Linked DNA regions of Homo sapiens: region 2 is linked to region 1. The links are contacts of gene promoters, found by promoter capture Hi-C in blood cells and fetal thymus (Javierre and others, 2016). All regions are on one chromosome and are shown on one strand. The core of a region is centred on a gene start or on the middle of the fragment in contact, and the rest is flanking DNA. Distances in the headings are between cores, read along the strand shown. Region 1 holds the start of TRIM23 (tripartite motif containing 23). Region 2 holds the start of KGD4 (alpha-ketoglutarate dehydrogenase subunit 4).

Region 1 (4,634 bases), core at 625-3,124:
GCGTGTGCCACCGCGCCTAGCCACAATATCAGATTTTTATGTTACTGTTTTCTCTAATGATAAAAGCCATGTCATTATCAACTTGTTCACAAGCAAAAGGCCATTTTACACAGTATTAGCATTATATACTTCAACTTTTACCTTCCAATAAATACTTCTTGCTTTCATCTATAGAAATGACAGTGAGATTTTTTTAGTTTATGCTACTATACCTACTACAAATTATGGCATGAAGATTTTGTCAGAAAGGACTATTTCATTGCACAGTTCAGGAATATTTTACATGTTAAGATGAAAATGAACAAGGTGAGCCTCCAATGTATCAAATTCTGTGCTGTAAGAAACTGGAGTTACATCAGGCTTTGGTACACTTTTGAGACTGTAAGGCAAACAGGGTAACAAAAAAATAGATACTGCAATGATACCCATTCCAATTATGAAATAAAACTTAAACTTCAAGTTAATTCACAAACTGCTCTTCAAGTATTCTCTACTTAGCAAAAGCACAATTCAATAAATAAAATCTCAGTCACACAACATGCCTAATAATGAGGGCTCCTTTGCATATCAGATATGCCGTGTACCTGTAGAATAACTTCATTAGTACCTAAAGGTCATCTGAATCAACAACCACCAATATTCACTGATACTAAATTGTGGGAAGAAATGTCTCATTTGCTGTCATATAAAACCAACATTACCTGAATAATCATAGGTGTCTACTTTTCAAGATGTGAAAAAAACTTCATATATTACCTTGATCAGTAATTCATAACCCTGGTTGCACATTAAAATAACTTCTGGTAATTCCTAAAATATACTGATGTCAACCTCATCAGAACTGGAGGAGGAGTGCATCAGTAGTGTACTAAAACTCCTCAGTGATCCTAATATGTAGCCAGGAATGAGAATTATCAATCTCTTAGATTAGAGATGCTCCTGAAGGTTACTCTATAAACCAATGGGATCAGTTCTCCCCTCCATATCTTTCCGTGCACAACAGTGGAAGGGAAAAATGAGTGCCACATATTTCAAATGATTTTTTAGCAAATTGATTCTGGAGCATGTATACATGGTAGAATCTCAAACTTCAAGCATAAGAAAATTCATAAACTCTATCGTTAATGCCCAGCTATGACGATGCTGCAGACTTGTGCAAAGAGTTAATAGACTGTACTACTAACAGGGGAGGGGGCAGCTCACCCAATAACAGATGTCTGATTACAGACGCAGTACAAGAGCGAAAAGTACAGACTTTAAAGCCGGTCAACCCGGGGCTCTGCCACACACTGTTTACCTAAACCTGGGTTTCCTCCCTGTAAAATGGGAATTCACATCTACTTCATAAGTAGATATTAACGAGCTAAAACACCTAACTTAGTACGTAGTTACGATGATGATGACTCAATTTATAATACTAAGCTAATTAATGTCTGTTGAGTTTAACTAAAAGCAGAGGACCTGGAGAAAAGACCGGTCTAGGTCACTGCCACTGGCCCGCAAGCTCCTTTTCACAAATGTCCCGATGATGACATGTCATGAGCAGAAGACCAGGCAATTTCAGGCCATAGGAGAGAAAGGATGCAGAGGACAGGACGAGACTTGTAATGCCAAAAGGGGCCCAGAGGCCGCGCATCCCACCTATCGAAGCCTGGGCCGCGGCGATGCCGCCAGGTCTCCAGGATGAACCGAAGGGAGGCCGATGGTGGAGAATAGAGCACGCAAGGTCCCTCACCTTCACTACAGCTGTCCCCCGGCTGCCCTGCCGGCCACTGTCTACTCCCGCTCCGAGCTTGTTTACAACCAGGGTAGCCATCCTCGCAGGGGAAGCGCCACAGAAACAGCCTTCAGAGTCCTCAACTGAGAGGCGGGGTTGAGCCACCTACCCAGAGGCCTCTGCGCACGCCACCGGCGCACAGGCGCAGTAGGACACTGGGCGCCGCTTAGCCGACTCTTACTCCTCCTCCCCGCAATCGTCGGGTGGTTAGTTGCACAGCCTCGCGCATGGGCACTTTTGTTATTTTTCATTATGTAGTCTGCAGCTGCTGGAGGAAAGACAAGAAAAAAAAAGAAGGGACAAAACGATTAAAGTTTTGGGGTGAAAACTCCAGATCCTTTAATGATTTTTCCTCTCGAATCCAAACCAGCCAGGGCGTGAACTGAGGGCGGTGAGGGGGTACGGGCATCTCCCTGCATGCAACGCGGTTTTTGTATAAACTACAAATCCCAGCATGCCACTCTCTCTCTCTCTCTTTTTTTTTTTTTTTTTTTTTTTTAAAAAAAAAACTCCGGCAACGTTGGCCTTTGGGAGGCCGCGTATTGTTACCTAGGGGTGGTTTCTTTTCCTGCAGTCGCGATGTGTGATTGCAGATGGAAAACAAAGTATTTTATGCCTACGTTTCTAAGATAGAAGAAATGGACTTGTTGAAAAGAAGCCAGTTTGTAAAGGACACAGTAGGAGAATTTAAGGTACCACCACCAGAGAGAGGTTGAGAGTGCGTTTGACTTTTGGTTTTGCCAAACGCGAGGTTTTCCGTTTCCTTCCGGGGCAAGTTGAACCTGTCCAGCCCCCGTAGGCTGTGGGTCAAAAGTGCCGGTCAAAATGGAAGTGAATCCCCCTAAACAGGAGCACCTGCTGGCGCTAAAAGGTAAACTTTTGCGAACCTGATTCCCCCTTTTCTGTTTCCTTGCATTCCCTACTTATCGAAGCCTTTGCCATGTAGGCCTCATCCTTCTTAAACACTCAGTGCTCGCCCTCCTGCTCTGTCCTTTGCCGCCAAGCGGGAGGAAGCGATTTCTCCTGGATGCTTTTTAGGTTTATGGGCCCCTTTCTAGAACGAAATAGATACCTGGTAAATCGTTCTTTCTGATCTGTGCTGCTTCAGTCACGAGATTTTAGCCGCAGAAGCTGACGTCCCGCTCCTACCGTGGAGATCTCTGTGAATTACAGCGGGCATCCAAAGTGCTTTTTCCTTCTGTCTCTTGTTTCTTCCTGTGGCACTGACGAAGTTAATCAGGCTTCAGCTTCCCCTGTAAAATTAGTATTGCATGACAGTAGTGCAGAGAATTTAGCAATACATAGTAATACAACATATAACTTAGATTTATTCAAAACAAACTGCAGTTTACTTCAAATCACTGTGTATGTGGGAAATATGTCCGAGATCTAATGTCAACTCTCATTTTTTGTACACAGCCATTTTGAGTAAGTTTGGTGATTTAATTAGATCATTATTTAGGAAAAAACAGCAGCACTTTTTTTTTTAGGACAATTTTTTTAATGCCTATTTTCTGGAAACCTTTTATTTGAAATCTTTTCAGCTTTATTTTATTTGTTTTTTACTACAACAAATGCGCTTTTTGTTTCTTGGATGCCTTAATATATGGTTAACAATGACTTCTTGAATGAGCTGAGGAAATGCTCAATAAACATTCGGGTTCAATTGAATTGCGCTTACTTTACTTATGGCATCCATTTTGAGGAACGCCTTATCCTTCCCATTATGATGTAGTCATCAGACTTTCTAGAAGCTCATCAGTCTCATATAATGATGCCTGTGTTAGCGAGATTGTCTCTTACTGTGGAACTTTGTAATGTTTAGTGATACAGTGATGGGACCTGTAAGCTTAACCTGAGCAAATGATCTAGACTAAAATGGAGATTAAAATGGATTGTTACTCGTGGAGAAGAGGGAAAAGAAGAAAAGCAACTAATTGTCGTGTTCTTTATCTCACAATCTCACTTCAAGTATGTGGAGTAAATATTAATTCTCAGAGTTTAAGTAACTTTTCCAAGATCACATAGCTAGTGATTGAGGCAGTGTTTCAACGCAAGGCCTGCCTCTCTTTCCAAGAGTCCGTGTTGCCTCCTAAAGAATGAAGCAGCATTCTCAGAGATAATTCCTCTACCAGCTACTCCGATGGGAATTTGGAACAGTTCTATTAACTGCTACGTGTGATTTATACAAATTAGAAGCTATTAAAAACAGTTAAATTGCAGCCGCGCGTGGTGGCTCACCCCTGTAATCCCAGCAGTTTGGGAGGCCAAGGCGGGTGATCACAAGGTCAAGAGATCAAGACCATCCTGGCTAACATAGTGAAACCCCGTCTCTATAAAAATACAAAAAGTTAGCCAGGCGTGGTGGCGGGCGCCTGTAGTCCCAGTTACTCAGGAGGCTGAGGCAGGAGAATGGCGTGAACCCGGGAGGCGGAGCTTGCAGTGATCCGAGATCACGCCACTGCACGCCATCCTAGGCAACAGAGCGAGACTCCATCTCAAAAAACAAACAAACAAAAAGTTAAATTCCAGTGATACAGAGACTGCCACTGGGAATTTTTAGTTTTCTGTTATTCTTTTTTTTCCAAAACCAAGGATACCTAAGAAAGAATATTTAAGCAGCCTAAGCCAGGCGTGGTGGCTCACGCCTGTAATAGCACTTTGGGAGGCCGAGGCTGGCAGATCACTTGAGATCAGGAGTTGACACCAGCCTGGCCAACATGGCGAAAACCCGTCTATACCAAAAATACAAAAATTAGCCAGGTGTGGTGGTGTAATCCCAGCTACTCGGGAGACTGAGGCAGGAGAACCGCTTGAACCTGGGAGGCAGAGGCTGCAGTGAGCTGAGATTGCGCCA
Region 2 (4,270 bases), core at 500-2,999, 3.6 Mb after region 1:
GTATGGCAGGGCCACCCCTGTATGGAGGGCAGACTCCAGACCTGTAGAGCCATCAGCATGCAATACTTGCCTGAGAGAGCCCAGGTACCTCTCTTCAACTGCTGAGAGCTGCTGGGTTGGAACTGTGCCCATCAAAACCATGGGGTAGGGCTGCCCCGGGGCTTTGGGGGTCCAACCCCCAGCCCAATGCATCCTGAAGGCAAGATACTGAGTCAAGAATTATTCTCAAGCTTCAAGAGTTAATGTTGTTGGCCTTTTGGGTTTTTAACTTACTTGGGACCTATTACTCCTTTCTTCTTGCCTATTTCTCCCTCTTGGAATGGGAATGTCAGTCCTGTTCCTGACCCATCATTGTGTTTTGGAAGCACATGTATTTGATTTCACAGGCTCACAGCTGCAGGAGAAGTTGCCTCAGGATGAGTCATGGCCTTGAGTCTCATCCATATCTGATTTAGGTGAGACTCTGGACTTTATAGTTTTGAGTTGGTGCTGGAATGAGTTGAGACTTTTGGGGCTACTGGGATGGATAAATGTATTTTTGGGTTTTTTTTGTTTGTCTTTTGAGACAGTGTTTCCCTTTGTCCCCCAGGCTGAAGTGCAGTGGTACGATCTTGGCTCACTGTGAACAACTTCCGCCTCCCAGGTTCAAGCAATTCTCATGCCTCGGCTTCCAAGTAGCTGGGATTATAGGCATACACCACCACGCTCAGCTAATTTTTTTTATTTTTAGTAGAGACAGGGTTTCACCGTGTTGGCCAGGCTGGCCTGGAATTCGTGACCTCAAGTGATCCGTCTGCCTCAGCCTCCCAAAGTGCTGGGATTACAGGTGTGAGCAACAAGCGTCCGATAAATGTATTTTGCATGTGAGTAGGACATAAATTTGGGGGGCCAAAGGCGGTAAGCTATGGTCTGACTGTGTCCTTCAAAATTCATCTATTGAAAATTGCTAATGTGACAATACGAAAAGGTATTGGAAATGATTAAATCATGAGTACAGAACCATCATGGATGAGATTAAGGCCCTTAAAAAAAGGTTTGAGGGCCAGGCACAATGGCTCACACCTGTAATCCCAGCATTTTGGGCGGCCAAAGTGGGCCGATCACCTGAGGTCAGGAGTTCAAAGCCAGCCTGTCCAACATGGCAAAACCCCATCTCTACTAAAAATACAAAAATTAGCTGGGTGTGGTAGAGGGCGCCTGTAATCCCAGCTACTTGGGAGGCTGCAACAGGAGAATCGCTTGAACCCAGGAGATGGAGGTTGCAGTGAGCCGAGATTGTGCCACTGCACTCCAGCCTGGGTGACAGAACAAGACTGTCTCAAAAAAAAAAAAAAAAAAAGTTTGAGGGAATGGGTTCCTTCTCTTCTGCCCTTCTGCCATGTGAGCACACAGTGTTAAACCCCTCGGATGAAGCAGTGTTCAAAGCACCATCTTGGAAGAAAAGACTGAGCCCTCACAAAACACCGAAACTGCTGGTACTTTGATCTTAGACTTTTGAGCCTCCTGAACATGAGAAATAAATTTCTGTGGTTATAAATTACCCATACTAAGGTATTTTGTTACAGTAGCACACATGGACTAACAGAGGAGCTAATCAACATTTATAGAATACTCCACCAAACAACAGCAGAACACTCTTTTCAAGTGCTTACAGAACATAAACAACATAGACCATATCCTGGATGACAAAATATCAACAAATATAAAAGAATTGAAATTATACAGACTGTGTTCTGACTACAAGGGAATCAAATGAGGAATCAGTAACAGTCAGATAACAGGAAAATTTCCAAATACTTGGAAACTGAACACACTTTTAAATGAGGCATAGGTCAAAGGAGTCTCAAATGAAAATTTTCTAAAAAGCATTGAACTGGGCCAGGTGCGGTGGCTCACACCTGTAATCCCAGCACTTTGGGAGGCCAAGGTGGGCGGATCACCTGAGGTCAGGAGTTTGAGATCATTCTGGCCAACACGGAGAAACCCTGTCTCTACTAAAAATACAAAAATTAGCTGGGCGTGGTGGTGGGCACCTGTAATCCCAGCCACTCAGGAGGATGAGGCAGGAGAATCAGTTGAACCCAGGAGGCAGAGGTTGCATTGAGCTGAGATCATGCCACTGCATCCAGCCTGGGTGTCACAGCGAGACTCTGTCTCAAAAAAAAAAAAAAATTATCGGCTGGGCACGGTGGCTCACACCTGTAATCCCAGCACTTTGGGAGGCTGAGGCGGGCAGATCACGAGGTCAGGAGATGGAGACTATCCTGGCTAACACAGTGAAACCCTGTCTCTACTAAAAATACAAAAAAAATTAGCCTGGTGTGGTGGCGGGTGCCTGTAGTCCCAGCTACCTGGGAGGCTGAGGTGGGAGAATGGTGTGAACCAGGGAGGCGGAGCTTGCAGTGAGCCGAGTTGGCACCACTGCACTCCAGCCTGGGTGACAGAGCAAGACTCTGTCTCAAAAAAAAAAAGAATTACCACAGATGAATGGATAAGCAAAATGTGGTATACACATATAATGGGATTTTTTCAGCCTTAAAAAAGAAATTCTGACACATTCTACAACATGAATGAACTCTGAAGACATGCTAAGTGAAACAAGCTAATTACAAAAGGACAAATACTGTTATGGCTCCACGTACATTAAGTACCCACAGTAGTCAAATTCATAGACAGAAAGTAAAATGATAGTTGTCAGAGGCTGAGGGAAGGAGGAATAAGTTTTTGTTTAATGGGTACAGTTTCTGAAGATGGTAACAATTGCCCAACAATGTGAATGTACTTAATGTGACTGAACTGCACATTTGAAAATAATTAAAATGGGGCCAGGCGCAGTGGCTCACGCCTGTAATACCAGCACTTAGGGAGGCTGAGGTGGGTGGATCACTTGAGGCCAGGAGTTGGAGATTAGTCTGGCCAATATGGTGAAACTCTGTCTCTACCAAAAATACAAAAATTAGCCAGGCGTGGTGGCGGGCGTCTGTAATCCCAGCTACTGGGGAGGCTGAGGCTGGAGAATTGCTTGAATCCAGGAGGCAAAGGTTGCAGTGACCTGAGATCACGCCACAGCACTCCAGGCTGGGCAACAGAGCGAGACTCCGTCTCAAAAAAAAAAAAAAAAACCACAAAAACAAAACAAAACAAAACGGGTTAATGGCCTCTCTGTAGTCACTGAATCCCAATAGACCATACCTGGGTTCAGTAATTTATATTTCTAAAAAGATCCCAAGACTTAGAAATCACTGATGTATATCATCAAACACATTGGTCAAGCTTACAATACTATATATAACCTAAGCATTATCACAGAACGTAATGTAACTTTTTTTTTTTTTGAGACGGAGTCTCCCTCTGTCGCTCAGGCCGGAGTGCAGTGGCACACTCTCGGCTTACTGCAACCTCTGCCTTCTGGGTTCAAGCAATTCTCCTGCCTCACCTCCTGAGTAGCTGGGACTACAGGCGCCCGCCACCACGCCCGGCTAATTTTTGTATTTTTAGTAGAGACAGGGTTTTACAATGTTGGCCAGTCTGGTGTCGAACTCCTGACCTCAAGTGATCCGCCCGCCTCAGCCTCCCAAAGTGCTGGCATTACAGGCGTGAGCCATAGCGCCCCGCCCGTAATGTAATTTTGGGGGAAAGATATGAGTGGCTTACATTTCAAATATTTCTGAATTTTTGAGTTATCTCAACTTGAAGCAAAGGCCCAGCAGTTCGATATCAGGAGTAATAAACGGTAAAGAAAACAGAAACAAATTACAATCAAGCAATGCCAATCAGCAAGAGAGTGTGACATGGCCCTTTTTAAGCCAGAGTAAACTCTTGTGAGCTTGCCACTAACTCCCATTTTAACGAAATTATTCATTTTAGGAAACCGCAAGGTTTTTTTTTTGTTTTTCTTTAATTTTTTTAATCTTTGCAAGAGCTGTCAGATAAGAAGGTTGTATTATTTATTTGGTTCCAGATAAAATTTTGAACTATATCGAAATTATAGACTGGCTTTCTGGAAAGGAAATGGTCCTAGACAATTTATAGGCTAATGAGCAGAGACCCACCTTAACAAAATTTTGTCCCCAAAACGAAACAATAGAACACACGTGGGTGGATCCTAGTAGGGAGAAGGGGTGGGCGGGGTCAGGCACAGGGGGCGGAGCCAGCCCCACGGCGGAGGAGAGCCCAGTCCGGTCTCCGCCTCCGTGACGTCCCGGGAAGCACCGCCCACAGCTGCCCGGGACTCCAGTGATCGCCGCGGCTCGCTCGCGCCCCGGAAACT

The links. The method cuts DNA at HindIII sites, captures the fragments that hold promoters and counts their contacts. A CHiCAGO score of 5 or more calls a contact.
Region 2: a contact is called between a fragment that was not itself captured here and the fragment with the promoter of TRIM23 in region 1, in 1 of 17 cell types (non-activated CD4 T cells). The highest score is 9.8, in non-activated CD4 T cells.

Annotation. Positions count from the first base shown.
Region 1 is chr5:65,622,459-65,627,092 of GRCh38, forward strand. It overlaps TRIM23 (tripartite motif containing 23), which reads right to left and starts at 1,875. Exons shown (of 11, transcript NM_001656.4): 1 at 1,736-1,875. The coding sequence starts at 1,816. It overlaps TRAPPC13 (trafficking protein particle complex subunit 13), which reads left to right and starts at 2,569. Exons shown (of 13, transcript NM_024941.4): 1 at 2,569-2,648. The coding sequence starts at 2,603. SHLD3 (shieldin complex subunit 3) reads left to right here and starts at 2,569. Exons shown (of 2, transcript NM_001365341.2): 1 at 2,569-2,648. RefSeq lists enhancers at 1,545-1,874, 2,005-2,084. The HindIII fragment of the contact is 4,327 bases long and covers 1-3,624 here.
Region 2 is chr5:69,213,543-69,217,812 of GRCh38, forward strand. It overlaps KGD4 (alpha-ketoglutarate dehydrogenase subunit 4), which reads left to right and starts at 4,218. Exons shown (of 4, transcript NM_033281.6): 1 at 4,218-4,270. The HindIII fragment of the contact is 3,043 bases long and covers 229-3,271 here.